Regions from separate parts of the Homo sapiens genome. Here regions 1, 2 and 3 are each linked to region 4. The links are contacts of gene promoters, found by promoter capture Hi-C in blood cells and fetal thymus (Javierre and others, 2016). All regions are on one chromosome and are shown on one strand. Each heading gives the region's core, a stretch centred on a gene start or on the middle of the fragment in contact. The rest is flanking DNA. Distances are from core to core; before and after follow the strand shown. Region 1 holds the start of MBIP (MAP3K12 binding inhibitory protein 1). Region 2 overlaps GEMIN2 (gem nuclear organelle associated protein 2). Region 3 has its middle 150 kb from the start of SSTR1. Region 4 holds the start of FKBP3 (FKBP prolyl isomerase 3).

What was found. Contacts are between HindIII fragments. The CHiCAGO score rates a contact against its expected background, and 5 or more counts as called.
Region 1: a contact is called between a fragment that was not itself captured here and the fragment with the promoter of FKBP3 in region 4, in 1 of 17 cell types (total CD8 T cells). The highest score is 8.4, in total CD8 T cells.
Region 2: a contact is called between a fragment that was not itself captured here and the fragment with the promoter of FKBP3 in region 4, in 13 of 17 cell types (naive CD8 T cells, total CD4 T cells, non-activated CD4 T cells and 10 more). The highest score is 30.5, in naive CD8 T cells.
Region 3: a contact is called between a fragment that was not itself captured here and the fragment with the promoter of FKBP3 in region 4, in 1 of 17 cell types (activated CD4 T cells). The highest score is 5.0, in activated CD4 T cells.

The regions. Positions count from the first base shown.
Region 1 is chr14:36,318,394-36,325,426 of GRCh38, forward strand. It overlaps MBIP (MAP3K12 binding inhibitory protein 1), which reads right to left and starts at 2,244. Exons shown (of 9, transcript NM_016586.3): 1 at 2,067-2,244. The coding sequence starts at 2,195. RefSeq lists enhancers at 1,933-2,192, 2,593-2,642. The HindIII fragment of the contact is 533 bases long and covers 2,610-3,142 here.
Region 2 is chr14:39,117,285-39,124,601 of GRCh38, forward strand. GEMIN2 (gem nuclear organelle associated protein 2) reads left to right here. Exons shown (of 10, transcript NM_003616.3): 3 at 715-804; 4 at 1,256-1,315; 5 at 5,146-5,259. Among named protein-coding and RNA genes, the nearest start is that of GEMIN2, 6.6 kb to the left of the region's middle. The HindIII fragment of the contact is 5,325 bases long and covers 2,336-7,317 here.
Region 3 is chr14:38,058,484-38,065,990 of GRCh38, forward strand. No RefSeq gene overlaps it. Among named protein-coding and RNA genes, the nearest start is that of SSTR1, 150 kb to the right of the region's middle. The HindIII fragment of the contact is 578 bases long and covers 5,314-5,891 here.
Region 4 is chr14:45,128,342-45,135,780 of GRCh38, forward strand. It overlaps FKBP3 (FKBP prolyl isomerase 3), which reads right to left and starts at 6,140. Exons shown (of 7, transcript NM_002013.4): 1 at 6,008-6,140; 2 at 2,358-2,459; 3 at 1,453-1,560. The coding sequence starts at 6,115. RefSeq lists enhancers at 5,338-6,209, 5,897-6,116, 6,210-7,080 and a silencer at 6,086-6,263. The HindIII fragment of the contact is 3,907 bases long and covers 4,831-7,439 here.

The DNA of each region.
Region 1 (7,033 bases), core at 1,626-4,125, 8.8 Mb before region 4:
ATGTCACAAATTAATTTTAAAACTGTCCTAATACATCTAACTATTCATTCAACAAATTCATTATTAGTAATATGAACTCTATGCATTTTGCCCTACAGAACTTGGAAGAGTAAACCACTCACTCGAAAATCTCTATTAGTCTGCTATTAATATAGACTATTTAAATATATATTTTCAGTAAAAACTTTACTAAATTAATACAAAAATCCAAGCTAAAAATAAATAATTGTTTAGCTTGGTAAGATGGACCATCCAGAGGCAAGCAAAAAGGTTAAAATTAGTAAATTTTGTGATCTTAAGTAAAAAATTATTTTTAACATTCAGTTTTATGTTTCCTACTGAGGAGATCTAATAATACAACGATACTTAGGGATGACACAGGATGAAGTTAGGCATGTTACAACATACATTCTAAATATCCTTTAAAGTGGTTGCAAAAGAAAATACTGATTTCTCTGGGGGCAATTTTATAAGTATGGAACTCTAATTTTCACTCTTAACACTTCTCAAAATATAGAGTATTATGAAAACAGTTTGTATTTAATTGATGAAACAATCATATTTTTGACACTTGTATAGGAGGTCCCTTCACTGTGTCATGGTAAAGTAACCAAATATTTACTGTGAACATTTTTGACAGGTGACATAAGTAAATTGTAATCACTTCTTTACTTGTACAGTACTTGAATGTTTAAAATTTTCTAATGAGTTTGAAAAATTCAGTATGCAAAATATTTCAAAAGAAATGTTTAAATCATTGCTCAGTATTTTTTAAAAATATTCCATCTTCTGTTAACAGGTGAGAATAAACTTTTTTCATCTTGACATTATAAAATAAATAAACTTAAGTTCCAACGTCGCCATAAAAAGTTCTCTAACTTTTAAACCATTTAAACGTCTTGGGTCTTAAGAATGGAATGTTAATAACAAAACACCCCAAGTCTTTAAAAAATGTTTTTGGTAAGTACTTGGCAAACAACTGAATTTAAAAGTTATATCTTTAAGCAGACTCCATTAATAACTGCGTCATTTCATAAAACCGTTTAACTTACAGTAATGTTCTTTGTAAGACACAACATACTACGATTTTTAAAAATAGTAACTTCTTAAAAGACTGATTCTCCATCTACTCAAGGCTTTAAAAATAATTTTCACAAATCAGACAAATGTTCTATTTTCATAGGAATTTACCATTATCTTTGACACAAATGCCTGCTTTGTCCACTTGCGCTAGTACCAGCCCCAAAACAAACTTTTACGGCTAGAAAATGGTCTATGTAAGATAGAAAATATTTCCTTTTAAAAGGCAGGTAAACAAGCATACTTTTAAATTGTTTCTCATTTAAAACTTGAATTTTACACCATGAAACGAAACAGTGACTTGATCGAAGAAGCCCATTTCAATTTAAAACCAATTTTACTATGACATTTCTGCAAAAGCGATTTATCAGCCAGTTAAACTAGTTAATAGTTAAATAACGACAGTTCTAACGCCAACAGCATTTTACGCTAGAAGTATTTTAAATGAATTCCTTTTACTTTTCTCCCCATTTGAAAGGATTATAGATGCGCAAAACAGCCCGAAGGAAAAAAGAAATAAACAAAACCAAGTAACTCATAAGAACAAATTACTCCCTCCCCCACCAAAAAAAGCTAATAAGCGCGCGCTTTTCTATAAATCTCAGGCCTACTGACCAACCAATTCCCATAAAGAGTAAGTTGGAGGAAAAAGGACCCTGAACGCTAAGCGCCTCCTAAACTCGCAGTGAAGCTTTTCCACATTCATTCTCTCCAAGCCTGCCTCTCTCGGAGCCGGGTTTTCACTTAGGCCAACCTCACCCACTCTTGGGGAGGACAGCTGCAAGGTAAACGACTCTGCAACCGGTACCGCCGTCCTCCTCACTCCGACCGAGGAGGCTGGGCCCGGGCTCCTTCCACACCTCGGCTTCGGGACCGCATCCCACACCTCTGCAGGCCTAGCTGCCCCCGGCCTCTGCTAGAGAAAAAGAATGGCGAGGAGGGACCGGATGGTTTCCATATTCCCAGTCCCTCAGGCCACCTCTCACCTGTCCAACCAGGGTGTGTAGGGAGCGAAAGATTTCGTAGAGCACCTCTCGGGAGAGGTTGGGTCTGCATCTTCGCTCCAGGTTCCTGTCACCGCTGCTCGGGCGATTAAGCTCCGTGGCAGCAGCCATGATATCTTCTCAGGCCGCCCCACCACCACCACCACCAAGATTTGCTCACAACCCCGCCCCCTCCCTTCCAGCTTTAGTCGCTTGGCGATGACGTAAGACACGGAGTCTGGTTTAGATCGGGCTTTGAGGCCCCACCCTCTCTATGTGAATGACAAGCACGTTACACCAATCAGTTGCAGCTGTGACATTGCGCCGAGGCTCTGAAGTGGGTAATTGCAGACCACAGCTAGGCTGGAATGCTGTGTTTGGGGTGGTCATTAGAGTCGTGGTCTCTTTAGCGTTATGAAGCCTACCTTGACTCCTAGGTGTTCATTGTGAATCTTGGTAAGAGGAGACATAGTTAAATTTTGTAGTTTGAGTCCAAAAAGTAAAAGTTGACATTTTAACATGGCGGTGTGGAGTGGGTCTGGAGGAAGCTTGCTGGTCAGGGATGGAGTGGTGCCCACACGTGTTTCTAAACATTGGAAAACTCACACGGAATTATCATGATTGGATAGAACATTTTCATCTCTTCAAGTTTGTTGTTGTTGTTTTGGAGACAGAGTCTCACTCTGTCGCCCAGACTGGAGTGCAGTGGCACTACCTCGGCTCACTGCAACCTCCGCCTCCCAGGTTCAAGCGGTTCTCCTGCCTCAGCCTCCTGAGTAACTGGGACTACAGTTGATATTCTCTGTTTTAACTGTAGAGACGCTTAACCCTAAAATTGTTTCAAAGAAATGAAACACTGTCAATATAATTCCAACAGGAATTTAACCTGGATAAATAATATCATGCAACCACAATCTTTGAAATTAGGACATAAAACCGAATTCAAATTTTACAAAGTATTATTTATCATAATAGCTTTATTATAACGATGTTTGTGGGGTTTTGTAATCTTTTAGTCAGACTCCGATATTTTTAAAAAGTGTTATCCAATTAAAGTATTACAATAATTTTTAGTGTTAAGCTTTATTCAAAAACACTTTAAGAAATCAACATCAGCTTAGAGATAAGGAAGGTGGGATTTAAAACTCGTAATTCTGTTAATAGTCTAATGCATTTACAGTAGAGAAAGCAAAGGTGGAAACTTGCACAATGTGTATTCTTTAGTTTTAGGGTAGACTAAATTAAAGGGAAGGACTAATGCATCAAGGAACTAAGATAAGGACGATGGGGATAAAAACTCCTTTGACCTGTCCCTAGGGAGTCTCTTAATTAGGCTTTCATTTCCAAAGACAAATGGGATCACCAGGCTTGACAGAATCTTGGGAAATCTTTTCTGTTCCCTTGTTGGCAGCAAGATATACAACTGACATTCCAGCCTATTTCTACAGGCAGAAAAATACTTCACAATGTCCAGTCTCAAATTGAGCAACCTTCTTATTCAAGCATGGTAATGGGGTAACTGTAAGTTTTTGTTTTGTACCAAATTAGCAATCAGTTTCAGATCATTTGTTTTCATTGAGGTGTTTCATATTTTTTCAAATATGGAGAACACTGATATGCAACACATTTGGGAATATGCTTTGTATATTTAAAAAATGTTGTCTTTAACAAGGTGCTGCTATTCCTTTCTTTGCCATCATTGATTTTGAATTTTCAAGTTTTACTTGTTCTTTTGAGCCTCTAATACAGAATTAACTGATGGCCATTTGATCTGTGTATTGCTTCTCCATGTAATTCTGTGATTTGATATCCAGACCTGCACTTGTATCTTAGTATTCTTTACTTAGGTACAGGTTGAGCATTCCTAATCTGAAAATTCAAAATCCAAAATGATCCAAAATTTGAAACTTTTTGAGTGCCAGTACCACAAGTGGAAAATTTCACACCTGATCCGACATAACAGGTCACAGTTAAAATGTAGTCAAAACTTTGTTTCATGCACAGAATTATTTAAAACATTATATAAAATTACCTTCAAGTTATGTGTATAAAGTATACATGAAACATAAATGAATTTTGTGTTTAGATTTGGGTCCCATCCCCAAGATAGCTTATTATATATATGCAAATATTCCAAAATCTAAAAAAAATCCGAAATCTGAGACACTTCTGGTCCCAAGTAGTTCAGATAAGGGATACTCAACCAGTAGTACTTAAAATTTGTTAACTCTTTTGTGCATTCTTTCTTCTTTCTAAGGACCTTTCTTACTCTTCTTGATGCCTATTACCTTCATTTTGGAAATTTTTCTCATTTTCTTATTTTATAATAGAAAATTCTATTTTAAATAGAAGAGTTTGTAGCCTGAAAAGATTTGGATTCCTTTGGGCCAACTCAAAATAGAAATTTGTAGATATTGTATGTGTGTATGTATGTATAACAAAAGTATAATATGCGCTATGAAATTTAGAAAGGGAATAAAGGGAATAATTTGCTCTTTATGGAAAACTAATTACAGTTTATAAAGTGGGTTGCTGAAAAATCTGCTGCCTGGCAGAAATGATTCAAAGTGTTGGTGTTCGCGTTAGCAACAGAGTTAGAAATACTGTCCAGCAGGCTTATGCCAAGAATCAATTGGGAGGATAGAGACTATAAATGAAATCTAGGCTATTTACCTTATCAACAAAAATGTCTTTTATGGTGAGCTTTAATGGCATAACTCTATTGAATAACCCAGTTCCCAGCAAAATACCTGAGGTATTAGAAGGGCTCAACTGATGTTTGTTGCATATATGATAATACAGATTTTATTTCAATGCAGAAAAAGTAAAATAAATGGTATTTGTCGTCCCTGTCTCCCCATCACCTGCTGCATAAGTCCAAGTTCTTTAGAATGACATGAAGGCTCTTATGATGTGGCCTTTGCCTAAATTTCCAGCCTCATTTTCTGCCACAAACCATCTGGTGCTTAGTGCTTCTGAAACTGCTTTTATGTCTTCAACACTTTACTATTTCTTGCCTCCATGCTTTGATTTTTACCCAGTGCCTGTTGTCTGCTTGAGAAACTCCTTTTCCATTTTCAAACTCCAGTTAGAAAATCTTTGGGGAATCCCCCCTCATAAAGAGCTTATTTTCTCCTCTGCTAAACTACTCCTACAACTTGTATATACTTCTATTATTGTAGTTATCACAGTGATACTTGAATTTATTTGACTATATCTGTCTCCTTATTGAACTATAAGCATTTATATGTTGGTGTACATAAGGCTTAGCATAGTTTCTGGCACAGAGTTAATTGCTCAGTATATGCCTGTTGAGCTGAATTTATTTGCCTTCATAAGTGAACAGATTTATAAAATGGAAAAAAGTAAACAAGTGCCTATTGTTGAAGGAAAATTGTAACATATAGACTGCTATAAACAATTTATTTTAAATAACGAAACAAGTCTGTTTATTCTCTTTTGTGGCAGCAAATTCAAAGTGTTCTAAGTTTTCTTAAGGGAGTAAATATAGCTAGCCTTCATAACCATTCTCAATAATTTTACACATACAAATTAATTGTACCTACTATATACCAGGCACTCTAATTGACATTGAGCTACAAAGATGAATCAGACAAGGACTGTTCCTCAAAGAGCTCCCGTTCTAGTGGGATAGGTAGATATATAAACAAACAACTTCATATAATGTGACAATGGCCATATTAGAGGTATGTATAAAGTAATGCAGCCAATTAGTTCCTTTGGGGAGGGGGTTGGGTCCAGAATCAGGAAAAGCTATAAACACTTAAAGTAAAATCTGAATTGATATTGATAAAAATATGAATTTGATATCAAAATATGAATTGATAAATAAGAATTCTCAAGGAATTTATAGAAAACATGAACAGCAACTTGAACATGCTTAATATGTTTAGGGAGGATACATTAAATAGAGAAGTATGGCTAAGCAAGCATTTCCTAAAGTGTATTTTATGGAATGCTAGTCTATAATGTGCTAATTTTAGCAAAACAGTTCATGATCAAGTAAATTGGGATAATAATTGGCAAATTGTATTGCCATTTCATGCAATGGCTCACAACATTACTTCCTATTAGCAAGGAGTTTAGCAGTGCAGTCAAGCCCAAGGACATAACTAAACCAATCTCAAACTCCCATTTTTGAAGATTTACTTACTGGTATAAATAAATCTCATACCAATTTCTGTATCAGTTGAGGTTTAATCAGGAAACAGAAGCCATACATGTTATCTGAACAGAGAAAGTTTACTATAAACATTGTTAATTATGGTAAGTGGTTAATTAACTGAAAAGGTAATAAAACAAAGTATCACAGAGGTAGTACATTCAGGAAGCAGCTAATCTCTAGGGCTGGGGGAAACAAAAGAAAGAGGAATTATTAAAATTGTGGAATTTAGAAGAACAGCCCTGTGGAGTCCCTCAGAGAAGAGGGTGTTGCTCTGCTACAGATGGTTGGGCACCATAAGAGATGATTTGGGAAATATTGAACACTGCAAATGAGCATCTAAGCACTGAAGGACATTATTCAGTCTGAGGTACCTGTAATTGAAATCGTAAAAGGAGACTAGAGAGAGAATAGGGCAAAGAGATATTTCAAGAGATGATGACGCTAGTTTCCAAAAATAGTGAAGGACATCAAACCACAGATCCAAGAAGTTTGGAGAACCTCAATATTAGTTACATACTACTGTCCAACAAATCACCTCAAAATTTAGTGGCTTAAAACAACATTTCTTATCTCATAGTTTCTGTGGGTCAGAAATTCAGGAGTGGCTTTGCTTGGTGTTCTATCACCCACTCTGAAAAAAAACCCAGCAAGACGTAAGCCACACCTTTTAGGACCTAGTCTCTCAAGTTACACATTGTTGGAATTTATTTGTTGGAAGCAAGTAGTTGTGTCTGGCTGACACTCAAGGGAAGGGAAGTTAGACTTCACATCTCCATTTCAGAAA
Region 2 (7,317 bases), core at 3,748-6,247, 6.0 Mb before region 4:
AGAAAACAGAAGTAGACAATTTAAAGTTAAGCGTCTTTAAGTACATTTTGCCCATACCAAAGTTCTTATTTTTAATTTTATTGATACATAATAATCATAATTTCATGCTTTATCACGCAGGCACAATAATAATTGTACATATTTATGGAGTATATGTGATATTTTGATACATGCATACAATGTATAATAATCAGTAATTAGGATAGCCATCACCTCATTTATCATTTCTTTCTTTTGGGAACATTCAAATCTTCTAGCTGTTTTGAAATATACAATAAATTATTGTTAACTGTAGTCACTCTACTGTGCTATTGAATGCTAGAACTCATTCCTTCTAACTGTATTTCATACCAGAATTCTTTATTTGTGGTATATCTCTCTTTTTGTTTCTGTTTTGCTATTCTAGAAAGGCAGGTAGGGCTAGATCATATTCTCCAGGCTCATGTCATTTAGATTTCATAGAAACTCCAACTATAAACCTTTCCAGATTTCTCTGATTAAGGTGACTAAGGCTCTTTCCCTAATATTTTTAACTGAGATATAAATAATAAAGTGAAATGCCTACTTTTTTACATCTGCAAAAATATTTTATTTTCTTGTATAATCTTTATTTTATTATACACTTTATCTTGGTTTTACTTTTGCTTTGCAGAGGCATGAGATTCTAGTTTTGACACTAATGTTGATCCTAATATTTGTGAACTTGATCTCTAGCTTTCAGGATGCCAACCCGCCCCTGAAGGTTATTCCCCAACACTTCAATGGCAACAGCAACAAGTGGCACAGTTTTCAACTGTTCGACAGGTAAGTGTCATATTTAATCTAATTAAGCCCCTGTTGGATTTATTTCTGTTCTTAGACTGTAGCTGGAAAAATAAAATTTATGATCCTAAAGTATACAGAATATTCATGAATTAATTACCAAATTATTTTTATAATCATTAGACATGATACAGTTTGAAATATTTTCTAAGTTTTGTTTATTTTTATTTGTTTGTTTATTTATTTCAATAGTTTTGGGGAACAGGTGGTTTTTGGTTACATGGATAAGTTCTTTAGTGGTGATTTCTGAGATTTTGGTGCACTTGTCACCCAAGTAGTGTACTCTGTACCCAATACATGGTCTTTTACATCTCACCCCCTCCCACCTTTCCCATTTTTCAAGTTTTAGATGGTTACAATTTTGTGCAGAAACTGATTTCAGTTATCCATTTTTTGAAGAGTACCATCTAATGTCTAAGTTTTCTTCCTTTAGAATGTGAACAAACATAGAAGTCACTGGAAATCACAACAGTTGGATAGTAATGTGACAATGGTATGTAAGTTTCTCAGTTTTAAGATGTACAATGTATACCTGATTGAAAGAGTCTATATTTACTTCCAGTCGTTAAAGATTCACTTGCCTAGTCAGTGTTACTTTCATTCTCTTCAATATACCATTAATAGTAACAATTCATTACATTAGTAGCCTGGAAAGTATAGATTTTCATGACAAATTTTTTTTTTTTTTTTTTTTGAGACAGGGTCTTGCTCTGTCTCCCAGGCTAGAGTGCAGTCATGGCTCACTGCAGCCTTGACCTCCTGGGCTCAAGTGATCCTCCCACCACCGCCTTCCAAGTAGCTCGAACTTAAGGCATATACCACCATGCCCAGCTAATTGTTAAAATTTTTTGTAGAGACAAGGTCTCCCTGTGTTACCCAGGCTGGTCTCTTACTCCTGGGCTCAAGTGATCCTCCTGCCCTAGCCTCCCCGAGTGCTGGATTACAGGCATGAGCTACTGTACCCAGCCTTTCATGTCAATTTTAATTCACAATATCTTGGGGGACTTTGGATAGGTGACTGTGAAACTTCCACAAGTTTTTAAGGATTCTTCTAGACATTTACTTTCTAGGAAATAAATACATTTTCAATATTTACAAAAAAAATTGAATAAAGCCTTAATGGATTTTCCTGATGAGGTGATGGTGCCATGCAGTAAACTCACATGTTTACAGAACTTGTGAATGGATTCTGCTTCTGCTTAATGTGATGAGTCTGTGTCACAATTCCAGTGACATATAAGTGAAACCTGTCATGTATATTGTCATGCATATGTCCTATATTTTATCAGTTTAGATATAACTTTAAGCCCTTTAGTAGATATATCAGGACTACCAAATGAAAAAAGGAGTTGGAAAGATGATACATTGTCTCAGGACAGTAGTTTTTAACCTTTTAGGGGACTTCATATTCTTTCGTAGAATCTAATGAAAGCTATTTATCTTCAGAGGGAAAAAAAATGCACCTATGCACAACATTTTAGTTTCAGGTAGTTCATAGATTTTAGATTTTAGAAGCTTCCTTTAGGCAGTGCTTCCTGATATCTTTTACATGGTGACACATTAGAATAAATGACTGCTTGCATATTCTTCCTGAAACCAGCCGAAAGCTGAGAGATTCAGTATATGGCATCTCTGTATGCTTCTGCATACCATTTGGAAGCTCTGCTCCAGGAAAAGCGTGAAGGGAAGTAACTTATCACTTGCCAATGGTCATTTAACTTGTAAAAGGTATAGCTAGTCCTTCTATCAAAGAAGCATGCGCACATAAACACACAAAAGGTATGCTTAAGGTTCAAACCCAAGTTGGTCTGTCTCTAAAGCCTGTGTGCCTTTGACTATGCAATGGTGCCTTCCTAGTACCAAGGATGTATGTATGTAGTAGGGACAGGGCTAGGTAGGTAAATATATTTTTTTTCTTACTTAGCGGAAGGCCTTTTGGGTGCATGCCCACTAACTAAAAAAGAAGCCACATCAGTAACATTATGACTTGATAAAATTTTGTCAAAAATGGAAATGACCTAACATAATTGATTCAATAAACTATGGTCCATCAGAACAGTGGAATATTATGTAGCAATTTTAAGTGTTTGTCATGGCAAATGCAAACATCATATAAGTAATAAAATGAAAATGTTTTAAAGTACACTCTGAGCCAGGCACAGTGGCTCATGCCTATAATCCCAGCACTTTGGGAGGCTGAGGTGGGCAGATCACCTGAGCTCAGGAGTTCGAGACCAGCCTGGGCAACATGGCAAAACCCTGTCTCTATTTAAATTATTTAAAAAATAAAGTACACTGTGATGGCAACTGTGTGAAAACATAAACATTTGTTTATTAATTGATCCAATAATTTAAGCATGTGCTATATTTAATAATCAGGATATTCAGTACTAACTGAAACAGAAACAGCTTCTGACCTAATAGAGTGTTAGGAAAAGGTAGATAACCTTATTCCAAGACAATAGGGTTTAACTTTGTAGTGGTCTCATGTTCATCGTGAGGTTTTATTTTATTTTATTTTATTTTATTTATTTTTTTGAGATGGAGTTTTGCTCTTGTTGCCCAGTCTGGAGTGCAGTGGCACAATCTTGGCTCACTGCAACCTCTGTCTCTTGGATTCAAGCAATTCTCCTGCCTCAGCCTCCCAAGTAGCTGGGATTACAGGTGCCTGCCACCACACCCAGCTAATTTTTGTATTTTTAGTAGAGACGGGGTTTCACCATATTTCCAGGCTAGTCTCGAACTCCTGACCTCAGGTGATTCATCCTAAGGATTTAATGAAAGCTACTTATCCCTAGGGGGAAAATGCACCTATGCAAAGTAATATACAAGGTGATATGTACAAACAAAGGTTATTTTGTTAAGGAGGTTATATTGAGCTGAATGCTTCTCCCAAATAGTCCTGCGTCCTGCTTTTTCTGTCTGGCAGCATGAGTAGATCTGTTTCTTCTTTGACTGGACAACCCTTCAAATATGTGAAATATGTAATCATGTCTCTTTACATGGGATAAATATCCTTCATTCTATTAAGTGTTCTTGGTGCATTTTTTCCCCCATACTTATTTCTGTCTTTATCATCCTCTTTTGGACACACCATTGTCTGTCAGTGTCCACTAAAGTCTTGTCCAAACTAAACACATCTTGGCTGGGCACAGTGGCTCACACTTGTAATCCCAGCACTTTGGGAAGCCAAAGCAGAAGAATTGCTTGAGGCCAGGAGTTTGAGACCAGCCTGGGCAACATAGTGAGACAACTATCTCTACAAAAAAAATTTAAAAATTATCAGGCATGGTGGCACATGCCTGTAGTCCCAGCTACTCAAGAGGCTGAGGTGGCAGAATTATTTGAGCCCGAGATTCAGGCTGCAATGAACTGTAATCACACCTCTGCACTCCAACTTGGGCGACAGAGCAAGACCCTGTCTCAAAAAATGTAATAATAAGGAAAAACAACATGTCCCACATATTGTGTAGCCACTTAGGCACTATGTTTGTCAGGGCTGCCATAACAGACTAGGTGGATTAAACAACAGAAATGTATTTATTTTCTCAGTCTTGAAGGCTGAAAGTCAAAGAACAAGGTGGCAGCAAGGTTGGTCTCTTTTTGTTTGTTTGTTTGTTTTTTGAGGCAGAGTTTCGCTCTTGTTGCCCAGGCTAGAGTGCAATGACGCAATCTCTGCTCACTGCAGCCTCCGCCTCCCAGGCTCGAGTGATTCTCCTGCCTCAGCCTCTGGGTAGCTGGGATTACAGGTGTGCACCACCACATCCGGCTAATTTTTTTTTTTTTTGTATTTTTAGTAGAGGTGGGGTTTTGCCATGTTGGCCAGGCTGGTCTTGAACTCCTGACTTCATGTGATCGCCTGCCTCGGCCTCCCAAAGTGCTGGGATTACAGGCGTGAACCACCGCACCCGGCCTAAGGTTGGTCTCTTCTGAGGCTTTTCTCCTTGGCTTGCATAGGGCCACCTTCTCCCTGTTTTCTCACGTGGTCTTTCCTCTGTGTGTGGGAGTCCCTGGTGTCTCTTTGTGAATCCAAATTTCCTCTTATAAGGACACTAGTAAGATTGGATTACGGCTCACCCTAATGGCCTCAATTTAAATTAATCACTTCTTTAAAGGCCCTGTCTCCAAATACAGTCACATTCTGAGGTACTGGAGTTTAAGGTTTTAACATACAAATTTGGGGGCAGAGATTCTCCCCATAACTGGCTCCGTATCTTTGGGTTGCGGTAATGGGAATATGGAAGGACTTAACTTCTTTTTTTTTACTGTTCAGTGTAAAAATTAATACACAGGAATAAATCAGTTTTTTTTTTTTTCTTTTAGCCAAAATCTGAAGATGAAGAAGGCTGGAAGAAATTTTGTCTGGGTGAAAAGTTATGTGCTGACGGGGCTGTTGGACCAGCCACAAATGAAAGTCCTGGAATAGATTATGTACAAGTAAGGGCTGTGTGGATAAACAGAACAAAAAGCATTTTAATTTTGGTGCACCACTTAATATAAGGGGTCAGCAAACTCTACCCTGGGCCAAGTCCAGTTCATGGCCTTTTTTATATCCATGAGCTAAGGATTGTTTTTAGGTTTTGAAAGAGTAAAAAAGAAACAAATAATATGTGGCTGAGACTTTATGTGGCCTGCAAAGCCTAAAATATTTGCTGTCTGACTCTTGATAGAAAATGTTTGCCAACCCAGACTTAGTTTATTAGCTCTTCAACCTAACAAAACAGCTTAGTTTCTGAAACAATTTACTGTGACTTTTTTTAGTTTGGCTTCATATCCCTTATGTTTGGCTTGGTAATCATTTTATGAGTTGGATAAGATTCATAGTTTTTTTAAATGATGAGGCATCAGGCAAACAGTGTTATGAGTAGCCAGGGAAAAAATGGAAATCGACACAATTAGATGCTTTAAAATGCATAATCACATCTATCACTTCATGGGCCTGTAAAAAATAAATCACATATTCTAAAGATGAAATGTTGAGGATATCTTTAAAATTCATGTGGCTGTAATCATAAGTTATGTAGACAACTCCTTGTCCTTCAGGATTTACCTGCCCCCAAGTTTGCAGGTGTTCCTTGAGAATCCAGTGCATGCCTCTGCATTAGCGCTTACTCCCTATAGCATGTAGTTCTTTTCAGTTCAACAGGTATTTATTATTTGCTATATGGTGCCACATTGTGTTTTTCACATTTAAAACTAATTTTTCCTAAAAATGTAAAAAGCCCCAAGAATCAATAAAAAGACCAAGAATCACCCCTCCCCTGCCCAAGAAAAAATAGCCAAAGGATATAGATACCTCACAGAAAGGAAATAAAATTATTCTTATATGACAAGATGCCAAAAATCACTTGTAATAGAAGTATAACATAACTATGCCAAGGTGCTATTTTTCAGGTAACATATTGGCCAAGAAAGTTTGATACACCATATTGACAAGAGCTGGGGAAACAAGCACTCTTAGACGTGGTACAGGAGTATAAATAGACTCAAATCTTAGGGAAGTTAATTTGGTACTCTTTCTATATAACCAATTGATCTTTTGGATGATATCCTTAACATATGCTACATTTCAAAAATAGCTATATATATATATATATATATATTTTTTTTTTTTTTTTTTTTTTTTTTTTTTGAGACAGGGTCTTCTTCCGTCATCCAGGCTGGAGTGCAGTAGTGCACTCATAGCTCATTACAGCTTCAACCTCCTGGGCTCAAGCAATCCTCCCACGTCAGCCTTCAACATACCAGGGGCAGCAGGCACCCACCACCACACCCAGCTAATTTTTAAATTTTTTGTAGCGATAAGTTTTTTAATTTTTTAAAAAAATTTTTTTGTAGAGAGAAGTTTTCACCATGTTGCAAGGTTGGCCTGAAACTCCTGGGCTCAGGCAATCCTCCTGCTGGGATTATAGGCATGAGCTATCATGGCTAGCCAAAAATGGTTTTTAATTTATAAAGAATTAAAACTTACTTATTTAGCTTATTTTCAGAGAATACATACAAGTAAAATACACCATGTTAAAAAAAACCCTTAAGGAAGTAAGCGTTTAATGTATATCCTCTTAAGTTTCTCACAAATCAGTGGTATTTTCATAATTAGCAATCACAGCCTCAGACTCCAAAGTAGACTTTTAAAAATTGAATCAAATTAGGTTTTAAAAATGTCATTCTAATTCAAGTGTCCTTAATTCTTGAAAATATTAGCTTTAGCTGAAGATTTTGAAATGGTGTATACAACATATTAATGTCATCTTATCAATGTTACAGTTTTATTGGATATACTTAATAAGTTAGTTTTTTCAAGTACTATCATGTAAAAAATTTTTAGTCTTTAACATTTTACTTACTAAAATCATACTTTATTTAAAAATTTACAAATTCAGACCAGGTGAGGTGGCTCATGCCTGTAATCACAGCACTTTGGGAGGCTCTGGCAGGTAGATCACTTGAGCTCAGGAGTTCCAGACCAACCTGGGCAACATGGCAAAACCTCAT
Region 3 (7,507 bases), core at 4,353-6,852, 7.1 Mb before region 4:
ACTATAAATCATGCTGCTATAAAGACACAGGCACACGTATGTTTATTGCAGCACTATTCACAATAGCAAAGACTTGGAACCAACCCAAATGTCCAACAGTGATAGACTGGATTAAGAAAATGTGGCACATATACACCATGGAATACTATGCAGCCATAAAAAATGATGAGTTCATGTCCTTTGTAGGGACATGGATGAAATTGGAAATCATCATTCTCAGTAAACTATCGCAAGAACAAAAAACCAAACACCGCATATTCTCACTCATAGGTGGGAATTGAACAATGAGAACACATGGAAACAGGAAGGGGAACATCACACTCTGGGGACTGTTGTGGGGTTGGGGGAGGGGGGAGGGATAGCATTGGGAGATATACCTAATGCTAAATGACAAGTTGATGGGTGCAGCACACCAGCATGGCACGTGTATACATATGTAACTAACCTGCACATTGTGCACAGGTACCCTAAAACTTAAAGTATAATAATAATAATAAATAATAAATAAATAAACACATCCATTTAATTCTTAAAAAAAAAAAGTTAGAAATTTCGATTTAGGAGTCAGGCAACTGGAGGCCATAACATTCTGACCTTCCCTCAACTGTTCCTAAGATCAGTTCTTGAGTTATTTTGCAGATCCTGCACTTGATGGATCAACTGGTACCACCCAGATTGATAAACTGGCTCACCTGATCTTGTGGGCCCCATCCAGAAACTGACTCAGCACAAGAAGGCAGCTTTGACTCCTTATGATTCCATCTCTGACCTGACCTATCAGCACCACCAGCTCACTGACTTCCCCCCACCCACCAAGTTGTCCTTAAAAATTCTGATCCCTGAATGCTCAGGGAGACTGATTTGAGTAATAATAAAACTCTAGTCTCCTACACAGCTGGGTTTGTGTAAATTAATCTTTCTCTATTGCAATTCCCCTGTCTTGATGAATTGGCTCTGTCTAGACAGTGGGCCAGGTGAACCCACTAGGCAGTTACAGAAATACATTTTCCAAACTGAATGAGCTTGGAAAAGGAACTCTAACTCCAGGTAAGAACACAGCCCAGCTGATACCTTGATTGCAGACTTGTGATGTCCTGAGACAAGGACCCAGTTAAGCTACACCAGAATCCTGGCCCAAGACAACAGTGAGATTATAACTGTGTATTGTTATAAGTGTGTGGCAATTTGTTACACAACAATAGGAAACGCAGATGCTATAGACTGCCTATCCTACTCATTTTTCTGTTGAAAAGAACTGCCTGATAACAAAATGTAGAATATTAATATATTTTAAATGGTTTCAACTTTTAAATAGCTTACATAAAATTTCCTGCTAAATAGACCTTTAATTGTATGTAAAAATGAGGGACTAATGAGAGACAAGTCATTTGCCCATTGGATCATGGGATGGATTATAGGAATCACATTGTTGAGCCAACAATATGATTGCTTGAGTGTGGCTGAGGACCTATGTTGAGAATCACTGCTTTCTATTTTCGTATTTGCCCTTGCTGAGGAATCTCAGCTGCTCCTAAAATTGTCACTGCAAAACACAAAGGTGTTTTCTTTTTTCCTTTTTATATTATTATTTTTATAGAGATGCGATCTCACTATGCTGCCCAGGCTGGTCTTGAACTCTTGGTCTTAAGTGATCCTCCCACCTCAGTTTTCCAAAGCACTGGGATTACAGGTGTGAGCCAATGTGCCCAGTCACAAAGGTGTTTTTATGTCACCTTTGCTCTGTTTTCTGGATTAATGATGGGTAATGTAATCAGAAGGGTCATCCTATAGAAGAGATAGAAGAGGGAAGTTGTGGACTGGGACATTATTCCTGGATGAAGCTGAGAACCATAATTTAATGTGAGGGTCTCCTTAGTTAGCTGCTTGATTCAATTTCTTTTAAAAAACTACCTAGATTTGTAATTTTAAAAATTAATGTATCCCCAAGGTAAGAATATCAAGCCACATAAAAATATACACTAAAATATCTTTGACTTCTGATCTTGGACCCTGTATTAGTCCATTTTCACGCTGCTGATAAAGACATATCAGTGACTGGGCAATTTACAAAAGAAAGAGGTTTAATAAACTTATAGTTCCATGGGGTTGGGGAGACCTCACAATCATGGTGAAGGCAAGGAGGAACAAGTCACATCTTACATAGATGGCAGTAGGCAGAGAGTGAGAGATTGTGCAGGGAAACTCCCATTTTTAAAATCATCAGATCTCTTGAGACTTATTCACTGTCATGAGAACAGCATGGAAAAGACTTGCTCCCATGATTCAATTACCTCCCACCAGGTTCCTCCAATGACACCTGGGAATTGTGGGAGTTACAGTTCAAGATGAGGTTTAGGTGGGGACACAGCCAAACCATATCATTCAACCCCTGGCCCCTCCAAAATCGCATGTCCTCACATTTCAAAACCAGTCATGCCTTCCCAACAGTCCCCCAAAGGCTTAACTCATTTCAGTATTAACTCAAAAGTCCACAGTCCAAAGTCTCATCTGAGACAAGGTAAGTCTTTCTGCTCATGAGCCTGTAAAATCAAAAGAAAGTTAGTTACTTCCTAGATACAATGGGGTTACAGGCACTAGGTAAATACAGCCATTCCAAATGGGAGAAATTGGCAAAAACAAAGGGACTACAGGCCCCATGCAAGTCTGAAATCCAGCAGAGCAGTCAAATTTTAAAGCTCCAAAATGATCACCTTTGACTCTGTGTCTCACATCTGCGTCACACTGATGCAAGAGGTGGGTTTCCATGGTCTTGGGCAGCTCTGGCCCTGTGCCTTTGCAGGGTACAGCCTCCCTTCTGGCTGCTTTCTTGGGCTGGCATTGAGTGTCTGCAGCTTTTCCAGGAGCATGGTGCAAGCTGTTGGTGAGTTCTACCATTCTGGGATCTGGAGGATGGTGGCCCTTTTCTCACAGCTCCACTAGGTTATGCCCCAGTAGAGACTCTGTGTGGTGGCTCCAACCCCACATTTCCCTTTTGCACTATCTTAGCAGAGGTTATTCACGAGGGCCCTGCCCCTGCACCAAACTTCTGCCTGGGCATCCAGGCATTTCCATACATCCTCTGAAATCTAGGTGGAGGTTCCCAAACCTCAATTCTTGACTTCCACACACCCACAGACTCAAAACCATGTGGAAGCTGCCTCTGGTGCAAGCCCCCTCTGAAGCAGTTGCCAGCCCAAGTTGTACCTGGCCCCTTTTAGCCATGGCTGGAGTAGCTGGGATGCAGGGCACCAAGTCCCTGGGCTGCACACAGCAAGGGGGCACAGTGCCTGGCCCATGAAACCATTTTTTCCTTTTAGGTCTCTGGGGCTGTGATGGGAAGGGCTGCTGTGAAGACCTCCAACGTGCCCTGGAGACATTTTTCCCATTGTCTTGGGAATTAACATTCAGCTTCTCATTACGCAAATTTCTGCAGCAGGCTTGAATTTCTCGTCAGAAAATGGGTTTTTCTTTTCTATCATATTGTCAGGATGCAAATTTTCTGAACTTTTATGCTCTGTTTCCCTTTTAAAACTGAATGCCTTTAACAGCACTCAAGTCACTTCTTGAATGCTTTGCTGCTTAGAAATTTCTTCCACCAGATACACTAAATCATCACTCTCAAGTTCAAAGTTCCACAAATCCTGAGGGCAGGGGCAAAATGCTGCCAGTCTCTCTGCTAAAGCATAATAAGATTCACCTTTGCTGCAGTTCCCAACAAGTCTCTCATCTCCATCTGAGACCACCTCAGCCTGGATTTCATTGTCTTTATCATTATCGGCATTTTGGTTAAAGGTATTCAAAAAATCTCTAGAAAGTTCCAGACTTTCTCACATTATCTTTTTTTTTTCCTGAGCCCTCCAAACTGTTCCAACCTCTGCTTGTTACCCAGTTCCAAAGTCGCTTCCACATTTTAGGGTATCTTTTCAGTAGCACCCCACTCCTGGTACCAATTTATTGTATTAATCCATTTTCACACTGCTGATAAAGACATACCTGAGACTGGGCAATTTACAAAAGAAGAGGTTTAATGAACTTACAGCTCCATGTGGCTGGGGAGGCCTCACAATCATGGCACAAGGCAAGGAGAAACAAGTCACATCTCACATGGATGGCAGCAGGCAGAGAGAGAGAGAGAGATTGTGCAGGGAAACTCCCATATTTAAAACTATCAGATCTCAAGAGACTTATTCACTATGATGAGAACAGCATGGGAAAGATTCCTTCCCATGATTCAATTACCTCCCACCGGGTTCCTCCCATAACATATGGGAATGGTGGGCCTTATAATTCAAGATGAGATTTGGGTGGGAACACAGTCAAATCATATCAGACCCTTTCTACATGGGCAACAACTGTCAAGCAGTTTCATATGTATCTTGTAGGAAAGGTGTATTACCTTTAGTTGCCCATGGATCATTTTGGAGCTTTATGTGAATACATATCTTTTTGAACATACATGAGAGCACAACCCACTCTGTTATTTGGCTTATTGTTTGAATGTAACAATATATCTCAGAGATACTTCCATATTAAGAATGAATTTTTACTGTTTTAACATAATTTTTTAATATTACACTAGTGTAGATACTTTTACATATGTATACATATATACATGTGTATATGTATGTAATTTATATACACATATACACATATAAATGAGACACATATTGTGTCATAAGCACTTTATATGTGTTAAATAAAAATTACAGGAGGTCCTTATTTTGGACTGAGCTCCTGCACTAGACCCCAAGAGATCAGACTAAAAACCAGAATGGAGTCCGTCATGCTGAGGTTCTACTCACCACATGGAAACTGAGTTGTTATGTGTCCTTTCCAGAAATCAGGAGAGAGAGATAACCAAATTTCCCAAATAGGTTAGTTTTAATCTGCATGGCAATGAAATTCCCTCTGCCTTTAATCCTTACAACAAAAAGTAACCTGGGATTACCTGAAGTTAACTAATGGGTCATTTTTCTATTGTTTTATTTCCCTGTTTGCACCTTACAAGGAAAGTAACTTTGAAATAACATGTCTGCTTTTTGTTCTTTGTTTCTGCTTTCTTCAGCTCTCTGTCTATAAAGCCAACTTATTCTACTCAGCTCATTGGAACACATATTATACTTTATAGAATGAATTGTTGCTGGATTCTGGACTTGCAAATAAAGCCAAGTTAAGATCTTTAAGCTAAAGTGTATTTTTTGCCTTTTGACTTATGTGTTCACTCATTTACTCTTAACTATCCAATGAAACATGTACAGTATTTCTTTTGGCACAGCTTTACAGATGAGGAACCTGGGGCAAGAGTGCTGAGGAAGCTTGTTCAGGGTTTCAAAACTAGTAAGTGGTGAAACCACCCAGAAAATAGAGTCTCATGCACTTAACAGTCTAATTATGATTATACTTAGGTTGCTCCCAATGTTTGTTTATGTATATAACTATGCTTTAAAACATTTTTGTACATTGCAGTTGCACTCATGTGAGTATCGATGGGATACATTCCTCAAAATCAAATTTCTGTGTTGGAGGATATCCACATTTTTAGTTTTTATGGTTACTGTCAAATTCCCTTCCAAAGAAGTTGTGATAATGTGTACATTCACTGTCTGTGTGTGATAATTCCTGTTTCCTCACGAACTTGCCAAGGCTGTATACTATCAAACTATTGCCAATTTGGCAGCTAAAAAATACTATCTTTATTTTGCCTTAATTTGCATTTATTTATGAGAAGAATTGGGCATCCTTCCATCTGCTTATAAGCCATATGTGTTTATTTTTCTGTGAAATGCCTATTATATTTCTAAAAGATTTGGGGTATTTTTCTTATTGATTTCTAGAAGTTTTATATATGTGCATATATATAAAACGTATACACATATATAATTTCTACATAAAGCTTTGTGTCATTTTTGTTTTTTGTAGAGATGGGGGTCTCACTTTGTTGTTAGGGCTGATCGTGAACTCCTGGCTTCAAGTGATCCTCCAACCTCAGCCTTCTGAAGTGTTGGGATTATAGGCATGAGCCACTTCTCCTAGCCTGAGAGTTTTATATTTTAAGGAAAATAGTATTTTATCTTTCAATATATTGCAAATATTCTCTCCCCCACTTTTTAAAAAACTTTTGTCCTTGTTTATACTATTTGGTTCTAACAACAGAAAAGTTTTAAATCTTCATAGGAACTAATTTATCGACATATATTTATGGGTTGTGGATTTTATAGTTTTGATTTTAAAAAAGTTCTTTAACTTCAGAATTTTGAAAAATTGGGATATATTCTTTATTACAGTTATGGCTTCATTTTTTTCTTTCAAAATTAATCAGCTGGAATTTATTTTGGTATAAAGAGTGAGGGAATAATTCAGCTATACTTTTAGTTTAAATTGCTAACTGGTTGTCTCATCAAAATGTATTGAAATATCTTTCCTTTCTCCATCATTTGCTTATATGGCCATACTCCCTTATCTGTAGTTTCGCTTTCTGCATTTTCAGTTACCCAAGGTCAATCATGGTTTGATAATATTAAATAGAAATTTCTGGAAATAATGTTTTAGTTGCATGCTGTTCTGAATAGTGTGATAAAATCTCACACTGCCTTGCATTGTCCACACTGGACAAGAATCCTCCCTTTGTCCAGCGTATCCAGGCTGTCTACCTGCCCTTTAGTCACTCAGTGGCCCTCTTGGTTATCAGATTGACTGCAGCAGTATTCAGGTAGGAGATGAACGGGACTTATTTTCCCAGCACCAATCACGAGCCTGATGATCAAAACAGGATGCAGTGAAGAAACCGGTGGAAACCACCACATGGTGACAAAAGTGATCTCTAGTTGCTCTCACTGCTCATTAGCATAAAGACACTCCCACCAGCACCATGACAGTTTACAAATGCCATGACAACAACCCAGCAGTTATTTTATATGGTTTTGGAACTCCCTCACCCATTTTCTAGAAAATTCTGAATAATTCACTCCTTAATTAGTATACAGCTAAGAGTGGGTATAAACATAGCTAGCTACCAATCTACAGGAACTGCTACTCTGCACTGCTACTGTTGCTGTACGCTGATGCTGCTCCTCCTTCTCCTCCTCCTCCTTTTTGGGACTGCTGCTACTGCTCTGGCCTGCTCTGCCTATAGAGCAGCCACTTTGCTGTACACTGCTACTCTGGGCAATTCTGCCTATGGGAGAGCCCCGCTCTGTCTATGGACAGCCATTTTGCTGTACACTGTTGTTGTAATCTTTAATAAACTTGCTTTCTTTCACTGCTGTCTCTTGAATTATTTCCTGAATGAAGCCAAGAACCCTCTGGATTGAGCACCAATTTGGGGGTTTGTCTGCATCAGTGTTGTCATGGGTGATCAGCAACTATTTGAGGCCAGTGGTGTGGCGGTAAGAATAATTTACAAGACAGCTGTAGGTAAAGAAAGGCAGATTTAATAGAGAAAGTATGGAAATATGTTGCAAGAGTGGTTACAGACAGGTTAGCAAGAGAGGAGCTAACTGCAAAGAGA
Region 4 (7,439 bases), core at 4,890-7,389:
AAAACAAAAAAAGAGAAAGGAGTAAGAAGGGACTGAGAATTTGTGAGAAAATGTCAAATACTTTATGTGAGCAATGAGCAATGTGATGGAGAACTGGGCAAAGGATAGTATAAATGTTGTTGAGTAGCAATGAAACTAGAAAACATGCTTGGCTAATATTAAGCATGAATTTATACCAGGCTCAATAAAAGGTTTTATGATTATATGTTTATAATGCCTGCTCTCCAGTCCCAAAGCATGAAGACAGAGAGTAGACAACGAGGGTTAGCAAGGAAATGGACAAGAGGCTTTTGAATGTAGGACGCTAGGAAAACAGTCACAGTACATAAATGGGCTCAAGCTGGCCAGTTAAACGAAGAGGTTTTAAATAAAATGATAGAGTTTAGGACCCTCATAAGCTTGCTCTAGATTGTCTCTAGCTCTTATGAATTTACCTTTTATTTTCTTAACTCCTTAATGAAATATTATCTGTCTCCTAAAACCATCCTCATTCTAATTTCCTGGAGGGTGAACTATGTTGCCAGTTGCTTCTGAAACCCTTCAATAATAATTGCTCCATTTACCTTAGTAGCTACTCAATAGATATAACATTTATTAAATATTAATTGTGATAAACTTTAAAACTGCTTTGTGTGCACATATACCTATAAACATTAATTTGTGCTTTTTAGCCAATAGGAAAAGATCATGCAAAATTAACTAGCTTTAATCAAATAAACATCTATAATTGTATAACTGAACTTACACTTTCCACAAATACCCAAAAGCTACACTGTCATCAATAGCCTCACCTCTTTACAAGAACTAAAAATAGATTATTATCACTGATACTAAGACTGCTGGCAATGAGTGAGCTTAGATAGTAAGGTATTATCAGAAATGACAAGATTATAATCAATTCAGCTCTGCTAAGTCAGTTCTTAGTAGCTGATCTTAGCTCTACTAAGGCTGTCAATTTGCAGGAATGAATTAATCTGGTTCTTCAAACCTTTGTACCAAAGTATAAAACCTGAGTTGGGAAAACTGAGACAGATGAACCCACATCCTGCAGCCAAGCCTGGATTATTTCTATTGCCAGGGACACCATGTACATTAGAAAAAGCTAAAAATAATCAAAAGAAAATGTATTTCACTTAGTCCAACTTGGCTATAGAATCAAGGCCTTAAAATAGCTTTGAAAGCTCAGAAGGTCTGGACAGATGTGGAGGCGATATTAAATACAATATCAGAAGTGTTTCACAGAATAGGCTAATAACTGTAAAGCACTAGTTCTTAGGATTATTTCTGTCCCAGTACACCTAAGGGAAATGGCCCACTACATTAAGTGTTTGGCTCATTGAAAGTGGTCGTATTCAACCACCCTTCACTATGAGAAGTTAGTGCAAATAATAAAGAAATAAATACAATTTCTAGACTCCACATGATAAAATAAAAAAATAATTATATACAGACCTCATCCAGGGTCTCTTCAGACTTGGTTTCTTTGGGTTTATCTTCATTAAGCTTCACATTTTTTACTTGCTCAGACACTTTACTTATACTTTCAGTACCCTTAAAACGCTGTAAGGAAAATGTTGTAACATCATACCCAGGACAGGCTAAAACCAAGAAGCAACATCAAGATTTTCAGCCTCTCAATTAAATGAACATCTGCATAATAAATATAGGTTGTATAACACAATTGTGAATAAATGGTCTAAGGAAACGAAGAGCAAAGAAAGAATTTTGCTCATAATTTATTTTTAAACAATAAATGATTACCCTCAAACCAGCTTACAATATAAATTCTGAAATGAGAACCATGACCTTAGAAAGGCCAACTCATACCCAGAGATATAAGCACTATTCAAATAACTCCTAAATAAAGATTTCTTTCCTGTGGAAGATATTCATTTCATAGTAAACAAATGTGGGAGAATGTCTTAAAATGTATTTTTGTAAAGCTCAGCCTAAATCTAAACCAGACTTTAAATTCATTAGTGAAATGGAAACTTATTTTCAATATAACATTTAACATATATAATAAAACAACAACAAAATACATTTAATATACACCATATGCTAAAGTAATACGGTAATACCACTGACCTAATGAATTTATAACTTCAGTGGACTTAAGAATTTGTTGTCTCAATTTAAGCTACAAAATCCAGACCCTTTGAAAATACTGAAACATTCTGCCATACTGCAGATTAGCCTTGCTAGATTTGACAGCTAGTCCACTTATGATAACAGTTCAGAAAAATTACAGGTGGAAAAGCTCCAACACATTCAACAAATCAATGCATTTTAAACATCTTTTTTGGAAATAAAATTTCAAAAGTGATGTTCTGCTAACAGAATCTAACAATACTCACCTTAGTTTCAAAAAGATGGTTATAGGCTGTAACCAAGTGGTCCTTGTTAGCTGTCTTGGCCACATTTTTAATGTTTCCTAATAATTTATGTTCTGCAAGAAACTATAAGGAAAAAAGCTGGGTAATCAAGATAACTTCTCCCGAGTAAGAAGTGTCTAAAATTAGAAAACGATCCTTTTATGTTAGCAGTTGTGTTTTCAGTAGTACTAGTACTGAAGAAGAAATAAAGCCTATAGTTTATACTCTTTGTTACAAAAAAAGTAAGAGATTTTTTAAAAATTCGGTATTTACAAGAATTAGTGACAAGACTGCAACTGTAGTGTTATGTACTGAACACAGTGTTTCATCCTAAACTTTTTCCTGTCAACACTCACAAAAAATAACATTTATACAGCAAGCACACTGTGGTGACTTGAGTCAGCTGCTCACTGCAGGAGGATACTTGGGTGCAGCCCTTGAGAGCCTCCAGCCAGGTTGGACATAGCTATCCTGAGGCATTTGTAACCCATTCTTAGCCGACTAGGAAGAGTCACTGTTACACAAGCATGTAACATACATATGTTGAGATTGCTATGCTTAACATTATATATATAATTGCTAAGTATATGGGCTGTGGAGTCATATTATCTAGGTTAAAATCCTAGCTGTGTGGGCCGGGCGCGGTGGCTCATGCCTGTAATCTCAGCATTTTGGGAGGCTGAGGCAGGCGGATCACCTGAGGTCAGGAGTTTGAGACCAGCCTGGCCAACGTGACAAAACCCCATCTCTACTAAAAATACAAAATTTAGCTGGCCATGGTGGCGCATGCCTGTAGTCCCAGCTCGGGAGGCTGAAGCAGGAGAATGGCGTGAACCTGGGAGGTGGAGGTTGCAGTGAGCCGAGATCGCACCACTGCATTCCAGCCTAGGTGACAGAGCAAGACTCTGTCTCAAAAAAAAAAAAAAAAAAAAAAAAATCCTAGCTGTCTGACACTAGACAGGGGACTAAGCTTGTCTAAAGACTCAGCCTCCATATCTGTAGTGGAAGATTAATAACAGCGTCTACGTCAAAGAGTTGATATAAGGATAAAATGCAAAAATCCATTTAATGCATTTAGCATAGAGCCTGTCACACAGTAAGAACTTAATAAATATTGGGATTATGATTAATACTGTATTTAATAACTCAAGGTAACAGCGGAATTGCTTTTCTTTCAAATATAAGACTGCTAAGATGGCAGATGGACACTAAAATACTACTGCTGAAATAGCAAGTCGTAGTATAACTTTATCTGAAAATCACGTAATTGTGAGGATTTCCATAACTTCTTTGTTTCCTTATTTTATTCTGCTTCTTTTTCTGCCTTGTGGTCCTTGCTTAATTCCTAATTTTGTTACATTCTCAAAGTTGTCCTTTGGCATCTTCTAAGCTTTTGATAAAGCAGTTAACATTATTAGCAGTTAACAGCTAACACTATCACTATTGTATTTTTTTCTTTTGCTTTTTCTTTCAAAGATATGTTCTAAATAACAGCTGATGGGGAAAGGAGACAAAGTTGACTAAACGGAAGTAATCAGTTACCTTTAGCATGCTGGTGGTTTCTTGTTAAAGATTCCAGAAAATACCCAAAGCATAAAAGCATAAACATCTCTTTGATATCTTATGATTAATAAAATAATTATTGTCAAGTATAGGTCTAAGTGTTAATGATCACCGGAGATTATTATTATTAATTTTTGAGACAGAGTCTAGCTCTGTCGCCCAGGCTGGAGTGCAGTGGCCCAATCTCGGCCCACTGCAACCTCCCCCTCTTGGGTTGAAACGATTCTCCTGCCTCAGCCTCCCGAACAGCTGGGATTAGAGGCGCCCACCACCAGGCCCAGCTAATTTTTTTTGTATTTTTAGTAGAAATGAGGTTTCGCTACGTTGGCCAGGCTGGTCCTCAATGCCTGGCCTCAACTGTTAGTCAGGATGGTCTCGATCTCCTGACCTCGTGATCCGCCCGCTTTGGCCTCCGAAAGTGCTAGGATTACAGGAATGAGCCACCACGACCGACCGAGACTATGCATTTAAAAGATTAATGTTATAAAAACATTTTGATAATCCAAGTCTGTTGAAATTCTTCCACGTGGCCCAGTTTTACATACGATTCCACATGGCATGATTTGTTTCATAAGAATATGATGGATGAAGTACATGACTGAGGTATTATTAAATGTTAATGATGTCTATTCTATTGTTTCAGATGAAATACGAATTGGCTTAAGAGAAAATAGTTCCATTAAAATGGGGTAAGATCCCCGACACATGTTCTTTTTCACCCTTGTACCTCCAAACACTGAGAATAGTTCTTGTTACAGATGTTGTATTAATATCTGCTAAATTAATCTAAGATGCGGATGCCAGGATAATAATTAAGGAAGAAGGCACTGGAAGTTGGAGAGTTCTTCTATCTCCCTGTCATGACGCCCGCCCAAAATGAAAATAAAATATAAGCTTCTCAAAATAACCCAGAAATAGTGGCTCACGCCTGTAATCCCAGCACTTTGGGAGGCCGAGGCGGGCGGATCACGAGGTCAGGAGATCGAGACCATCCTGACTAACACGGTGAAATCCCGTCTCTATTAAAAATACAAAAAATTAACCTGGCGTGGTGGCACGCGCCTGTAGTCCTAGCTACTCGAGAGGCAGAGGCAGGAGAATCGTTTGAACCCGGGAGGCGGAGGTTGCAGTGAGCCGAGATCGCGCCACTGCACTCCAGCCTGGGCAACAGAGAGAGACTCCGTCTCAAACAAACAAACAAAAAAACCCAGAAACAGTTTTTCTAAATGAAAAGTTTAGAATTTTAAAAATTGTATAGAAAACACAAGCAGGCTGCCGCTTGTAAGAGAATGCTGCGTGCACAACTATTTCAGCAATTTAACAGGTGCATGAATGAACTTATTTTCCAAAGGAAAAACAAGTGTAACAAAAATAACTTGACTATAGACGGATGGTTAAGATGGAGACTATGCTGACAAATGGAGAGCCTACAGTATAAAGCATTTCAAATAAATTTCTTAGTCTGTTTATAACAATGACAGACCACTGCACAAGAGAAATGTGCATGTAGCTCCCTTAAAGTATAAAGGTGAAAAGGTCATTTAAAGGGTCGATATGTTAAATCAAAACTTAAACCACAACCTACGGATTTTTTAAAAATCACACGCATTAATGTTCAGTATTTAGTAAACTGTTGAGAAAAGCAAGTTGGATACACCGTTCCCACAGAAATCTTCACATCCCTTCCCATTTCCCTAGTAGCCGGCGCCCCGCTCCCAGGAGTCTCATCCACACCACTATTCCTCGGCCTCTCCGCCCTAGCCCCCAATATCCTCGGGTTCCTATTTTTCTGGCCTCCACCCCCACTCAAGGATCCCAATGAGGTTCTAACTCTACAATTGCAGCCTGTGTGCCCCAAGAAATAAAGCTGCTCCCCTGCCCCAGTAGAGAACGCCCGAGAGGCGGGAGCGAGGCACCAAAGCACAAGCTGGGCCTCTCCGGCCTTCCAGGCCACCGGCCGCGGGAAGACGAGGGCGGGGGCACAGAGGAATACGGAATGTATGGGCATCTCCAGGGGGGTGAGGCGTCCCTCAGCCGCACCAGCCCGGCCGCCCCTACGCCTCTGGTACCGAATCTGAACCGTGTTCCTGCAGAAACTTGATAATGTCCTTCTTGGGCAGCTGCTCACTGCGCAGCTGCTCCACGGTCCACGCCCGCTGTGGAACGGCCGCCGCCATCTTCCCCCGCTGCCTCCGCTTTACTGAGCCAGCCCGCCGCAGTTCGGCATCGCCCCGCCCCCTAGGGCGGGGCGGGGCCACTCACGGAGGTCGAGGGGCGGGCCTCTGCTCTAGCAGTCGGGATTGGGGCCTGTCTTTGAGTGACGTCAAGGCTGTGCTATGAGGGCTTCTTTGTTGAGTCCGGGTTGAAAAACCTACCGCGGTCGTCTCTGCAGTCGACTGAGTAGAAGACCGCTAGAGATCTTCGATTCTGAATTAGACACCTTGTGAAGCGACCTCTGATGGTAGCGACATTTATCAACCATTACCCACATTTAAGGCAGCTATGCCTTTAAAGTCCAGTCTATAACCTGTTAAAAGAAAACAGCATTCAGGCTCCTTATCTCGTTTTATCTAGTTCTAGCCTAAAAAGTCACACCTGAAGTGCTTCAGTCCTTGTCGATCCGAAAACCCATATCCCACCATTTCCCTTTTAAAGATCACACAACCGAAACTTAAATACAAACTGCCCATCCCCTTCCCCCCATACAAATACGAGAAAGTTTGTCCAAAACGAAGTTCAGAAACTTTAACAAATAAAACAATTTATAAAGAAGCCGCACTCAGGATGCCACTTGCTGATGAGAATGACATTATTAATGCTCGTAACTCTGTGATGTATATTTTTTTCTCAGTACACGAGGAAACAAATTTACAGAGGTTACTCAAAGTCAGGTTTAGAGAGAAGTCAGGAATTATTTGAGACAGAAATCTTCGTTAGAGTGGAATAATTGCACACCGACGTTTATTATAATGCTCTTACCTATAATAAAGATTTAATAGTTGAACATCAGGACTCCTTACTTAAAAAAATGTAGGCTGACTCTGGGCATGTTGCCTATGAGTTAGCTCTGCTTTGCAAGGAGCATTAAAAAAAAAAATTCTGACGAATAGCTGGACCAGACCACGTTCACTTCCCTTTAAACAATGAAAATATTAAAATAATGGGTTGCCACTCCCAGCGCGGTGAAAAAGAGACTTGGCATTTTGTTTTCTCAGCCCAGATAGAGATATAAGACAAATTATTCCATCTACACATTTTTGCTTTTCACTTTATATTCTGATTTAAAAGTACAAGGAATGAGGCACGTTAGACGCTCAATAACATTAAGTTCCCAAACTGGTGGCTATTCCATTGTCCCCGGGTATGTAATATTTTACAATAAATCTCTATTATAACATTTTAAGTGATTTATCACGTTAGCAATGACGCCCAGCCATCTAATCATTGGAAACGGAACTTAAATTTAGAGTTTGTTAAAACAAAACACCGGAACCGCACCGG